2 separate regions of the Homo sapiens genome follow, and region 2 is linked to region 1. The links are contacts of gene promoters, found by promoter capture Hi-C in blood cells and fetal thymus (Javierre and others, 2016). All regions are on one chromosome and are shown on one strand. The core of a region is centred on a gene start or on the middle of the fragment in contact, and the rest is flanking DNA. Distances in the headings are between cores, read along the strand shown.

Region 1 (2,700 bases), core at 38-2,537:
GAGTAGGACAGCCTGTTGATCCTTCAAAAGGCAGGTTTGTCTGTTTGGTTTTCTTTACAAAAGAGCAAACCTGGGAATATGTTTCAGGATCCATGTAACTCACCGTAAGATTTATTCAAGAAATCTGTACGTTGTTTATAGGTAAGGAAATGTCTTCTTTGCCTACACAGTTGGCCACGACTGTCTTGATCTGTGTGGTGTTAGGTTACTGTATCTACTTGATGGTAAAAATGTTACAAGAACGGAAGTTGAAATTCTGCACTTTGGTTTATGCAGTCTCATATTTCCAGATAAAGTTAATAAACGCAAAGGACCATATCCCAATGTAACGAGGAGGGTTGGGAGGACAAGCTTCAAGAACGAGTGGGGTGAATTCAACTATCAAAATTGTAAACATGAACAAGAGTCCAGGAATCTTATATTTCATCCGGATACATGAAAGTAGATTTCAAGAGTTGGTCATTCACTTGCACTGCTTCTACTCAGAAAGCAAAAGAACGGCTTCTAAAAAGAAAACACAAGCCTAACACTTCGACAGAGGGGTGAGAGGGAAAAAGCAAGCCACATGAGTCTGACGAACGGGTACGAAAGAAATTCAGAGGGCAAGGAAAGAAGGGGAATGAAGAAGACAGGAAAAGGTGAAGGAGGCGGGCAAAGGCCATCTGGTGTGAACCTGGCTGCCCAGCTCTTTATGCACCCAGGGCAGCGTGGGGCCCCTCTCGCCCCGCGCGCATCTAGGAGCTGGGGCGCAGTGCGAGCCCCCCACGGGCCTGGCAGCCGGGGACGCAGGGCGGGCGGGAGATGAGGGGTGCGCTCGCCGCGGGCGCTGACGCCCCACCAGGTGCCGCACGCAAGGGTCCCCAGGAAGGAGGCGCACTTAGCGCAGCCCTGGCCTCCCGGAGCAGGAAGGGGGTGGGTGGAGCTGAGCCCGGGGCCGCCCTCCGGAGCCGCCCCCGCAGCCCTGGCCCCCGCCCCCCGCCCCGGCTGTCAGCGGCCCCCTCCCGCAGTCACTTACCCGCCGGCTGCGCGGTCTCGGCCGCGGTGGCGGCGGCGACGGCGGCGACCCCCGCCTGGGTCATGATCCCAGGAGGGGAAGGCAGGAGTGTCTGACCGTCTGGGCGAATCTCTCCGTCCGCGGCCACCGCCTGCTCCTCCGGGGCTGGGGGAGCGCGGGCCCAGGCCCTCCTCTCCCCCCGCCCCCGCCGCCTCTTTTTGCGGCCACCGCAGCCGCTGCGAGCCCGAGCCCTCAAGGCCGGAGACCCGGCGGCAGCGCGGCCTCAACTTTCCCAGCCCCCCTCCCCCCGCCCCTCCCCGCCCCTCCCGCGGCCGCAGCTCAGCAAGCGAACAGCCTACCCTGGGCGCGCCGCGTTCCCGCCTCTTTCACTCAACCCGCCAATCAGGCTGCGGGAACGCTGCCGTGGTAGCCAATAAGAAGACAGAATGCCGTTGCACTACGCTAGAGGGCGGGAGGAGGCGGAGAGGAAACCAAGGAGTGAACGGGGATCGGGCGGCCCAATGAGGAGGGCCGGGGGGCGGAGGTGTGCAAGTTGGGTTGAAGAAACAGGAAATATTCTTAAAGGTAGAGTGACGGACAGGAAGGAAAGCCAGTAGGTGAATGGGAAAGAGGTGGGCCTGGTTCCTTAAAGGGGACGCCTTGAGAACCTAGAAAAGAAGGTGTTTTAAGAAACTTCTTTGTATCTTCTTCTGTGGTCTCTTTTCTTCGTCTTTCGGTAGGAGTTTGGAAGTGGAAAAATTGAAAAGGAAGAGGGCACGGAAGTCTTTCGGAATAGTTAGCCCCTCTTAACGTGGAGGGCAGGAAGGTGAGAAGATACGTCTTAGTAAATGTGGAGAAGAAAGAATCAGACGTTTCCGACTTCTCGATAACTGGAAGATTGTTGCTGACTTGACGCTGCTCGCATTCGTAGGCTGTGGTCTCTTGTCATCCTTTATTTGCAACAACACACAGATTTCTGTGAATTGGAGATGGCCATGTTCAGAAATGCCCTGGGGGCCTCCCAGCTGGGACAAGGGAGTTTGGCATTGGGGGATGGGGTTTGAGATCTCAAGCCTGGGTTACTAAATACCTGGATCTAGGAGAGGTAGGGCCAGGGGTCACGAAATGGAGACCTGAGTGCCCCTTAACTCCAGGATCTGTGTGGAGCCCTTGGAACCGTGATCACAACTCCCTCTTCCTAGTTTCGCTTCATATTTTATAACCTCCTGCTGAAACAGGTGTCCTCCACCTAGTTGCGGTTATAGATTTCCAAGCCCTTCCACAACCAGATTTGGAAATATCCCAGATCTTAGATGTCCGTGGGCTAACTTCCAGAAGGTGCACACAGGGCATGGCATAATGGGAATTACTTGAGCCTGTATACAGAAGCAGCAGACATCGCATTGAGCAAAAGGGTAAAGGCTAACAGTAACGGAGTCTTATGTTTGTACAGCAGATTGAAAAGCTATGATGAAACGGAAGGCCTGTAATGTTGCTTATAAACTGTGGTACTAATAAACAGGCTAGAAATTTTCTTTAACTCATCCATCTAGGCACACGAAGTTCTAATTAGCCTTTGAACAGACTTGGCACATCCAAATCAAAACTGCAGATAAGAAAGATTCTACGAGTCAGAGCCATAATAGCAATGCTAATAACATCACCATAAAATTGTATAGTATTGGTATGCTCAGCCATAGGAAACA
Region 2 (2,700 bases), core at 1-2,500, 6.4 Mb after region 1:
ACGGAGCCAATCACGGACGTCGTTTGTTTGCGGCTCCTCCCGGAAAAAGCCGATCAGCCTGAGAAACCAATTAGAAAGTGACGCTGGGAAGCCACGCCCAAAGAGCGGAAAATGCCGAAGGTAGCCGAACGGAAAGGGTGAATTCGCCTTGTTCGGTGGCTGGCTGGAGGAGACATTCGACAATGGCAACAGTGGCCAATCAGAGTCGCCGGCCCTTACGAAGAGGCTTGAAGAGTTGAGGACGGTGAAACCCAGAGACGCTGGTGAAACTGCACGGCTGGGCGCCGCCGCCGCTTTGTGATTGGCTGGAAAACTCCGCTGGGAGCGTACCTCCTTCGGTGATTGGTGAAGAGAAGGGGGCTTCCGAGGACAGTCTGGCCAGTCAGGACTTCCCCTCCCTCTCCAAGGTGGGGAGAAGAAAGCGAAGGGAGGGCGTCTATAAAGCGCTGTCTCATTGGCCTGAAGCTTAGGCGCTGGAGTTGGGGCAAAAGGGAGAGGGAGGGAGCCCGAAACTCGCGGCGGCGGCCAATCGGCTCTCACTGCCGTCCAATCGCAAGACCTAGCTGCAGTGTGATTGGCCTTCGGCCCCGGTCCCAGGAGCGGGGAGATGCCTGACTCGGGTCGTGGCTGACGACCCGACGGTTCGCCTGCGGCCGCCTCCAACAACGGTGGAAACCGCACACAGGGACCGCGGGCCCTCGGTGCAGCAAATCGGAAAGTGCTGCGGTCGGCGGCCCTGGGCTCTGAGCGCTCAAGCGAGCAGAGGGGTGGAGGGGCTCTCCCCACCCACAGGAGGCTCTCGGCGGGGCGCAGCCAATTCTGCGCGCCCAAGGCTCCCCTCTGCCGTGGATCGCGTGTGCCGAGTGTTGGCCTCTTCCCCGAAAGGGCCAGACGGACCAAGGGGGCCTTCCCAGCCGGCTGCAAGCTCTCAGACGCTAAAATGGGAACAAAGCTTCCAGAAAGGCAGCGCCTTTGGGCGGCCGCGCCCCGCCCAGCCGCGGGGGCCATTGATACAGAGGCTTGCTGCGCTTGGTGTGCGCGGCCCGGCCGGGCCTCTGGAAACGCCCATGAGAAATGAGCTCATGCTGGATGCGCGCGCTCCTTGGGCGCAACTGCCCAGCGCAAAACGGGCCCCGAAAGCAGGTGAGGGGAAATGCCGTCAGGCCGGATATCCTGAAGCCTCCGAGGAAATGGGGGGGTCAGAGGAGCCCGTGGTAGCTTTGGATCTTTTGGAACTAGGGTGATCTATAAAAGTGCAGCTTGAGAAGATTTCATACATAAGACCAGCGTCCATTGTTCTACCATAGAACCAGTTCCTTTGGTCTGCTTTAGAACAGTGAGGTATGGCTACGTCAAGATAACAGAGAAAGTAGAACAGACAGTTGCCATCCTGATTGTAATCCAGTGGTGCCTGTAATTTCTACCTGCAGAGTCATCTCTTTCTGTTAAGATGCTGTCTCCAGAAAGCACATGTTAAAGGACCTATATTTGATCAGATTACCTGGCTCTTGCTTTGAAACACTGATGAAGGACTTGGGACAGAACAAAGTAAGCTTTGATGGAAGACAGGAAAGGTCTAGATAGTGTTTGCAGATTCAAATGGCTACAGAGGCCAGACAAGTAAAGCAAATGAGTGAGACTGGCCTTGTGTAAGACAATGGGGAATGATAGGGAAAATGGCAAATTGGAATATCCATGCCATAACTAAAAGGAACAGCTGCTCAACTCTAGCAGATTGTTGCCCTCAGGAATGTGGGTCCAGTGTTCTCAGATGTTCAATTTTTTTCCTCCCAAAAGAAACCCCAAAATTGGATTTTTGTGTGAAATCTCTGCATTTTTAAATGTTGGTAACCAAATTTTCAAACCCTGCAGGCCAACCTAAAAACATCCCTTGGCCAATGAGGCATTGGAAAAAGTGTTAATAATTGTTAGGGGCCCGATAGCAGTAGGAGGGTGAAAACAAAATGGTTTGGGACCTTAAATAATTGAAATGTATCTTTATTTATTTATTTATTTTTGAGACGGAGTTTCACTCTTGTTGCCCAGGCTGGAGTGCAGTGGCGCGATCTCGGCTCACCGCAACCTCCGCCTCCCCGATTCAAGTGATTCTCCTGCCTCAGCCTCCCAAGTAGTTGGGATCACAGGCATGTGCCACCATGCCAGCTACTTTTGTATTTTTAGTAGAGACGGGGTTTCTTCATGTTGGTCAGGCTGGTCTCGAACTCCCGACCTCAGGTGATCTGCCTGCCTCAGCCTCACAGAGTGTCAGGATTACAGGCGTAAGCCACCACACCGGGCCGGTTGAAATTTATCTTTAAAATAGTGCACCTTTAATCCTTTTTTTATTTCTGTGTGTATCTTATAATGTGCATATCATGTTAGCTCAAGATCAAGAGTTTATGGACAAGCCAGGAGTGGTGGCTTATGACTGTAATCCCAGCAATTTGGGAGGCCGAGGCAGGTGGATCGCCTGAGGTTAGGAGTTCAAGACTAGCCTGGTCATCATGGTGAAACCCCGTCTCTACTAAAACTTTAAAACTTAGCTGGGCGTGGTGGCGGGCGTCTATAATACCAGTTACTTGGGAGGCTGAGGCAGGATAATTGCTTGAACCCAGGAGGTGGAGGTTGCAGTGAGCTGAGATCGCACCATTGCACTCCAGCCAAGGCAACAAGAGCAAAACTCCGTCTCAAAAAAAAAAA

What was found. The method cuts DNA at HindIII sites, captures the fragments that hold promoters and counts their contacts. A CHiCAGO score of 5 or more calls a contact.
Region 2: a contact is called between a fragment that was not itself captured here and the fragment with the promoter of USF3 in region 1, in 1 of 17 cell types (fetal thymus). The highest score is 6.7, in fetal thymus.

Annotation. Positions count from the first base shown.
Region 1 is chr3:113,695,355-113,698,054 of GRCh38, forward strand. It overlaps USF3 (upstream transcription factor family member 3), which reads right to left and starts at 1,288. Exons shown (of 7, transcript NM_001009899.4): 1 at 1,016-1,288. RefSeq lists silencers at 619-1,008, 1,029-1,498. The HindIII fragment of the contact is 8,785 bases long and covers 350-2,700 here.
Region 2 is chr3:120,094,636-120,097,335 of GRCh38, forward strand. GSK3B-DT (GSK3B divergent transcript) reads left to right here and starts at 469. Exons shown (of 3, transcript NR_186629.1): 1 at 469-1,143. RefSeq lists enhancers at 1-400, 27-321, 601-920. The HindIII fragment of the contact is 601 bases long and covers 951-1,551 here.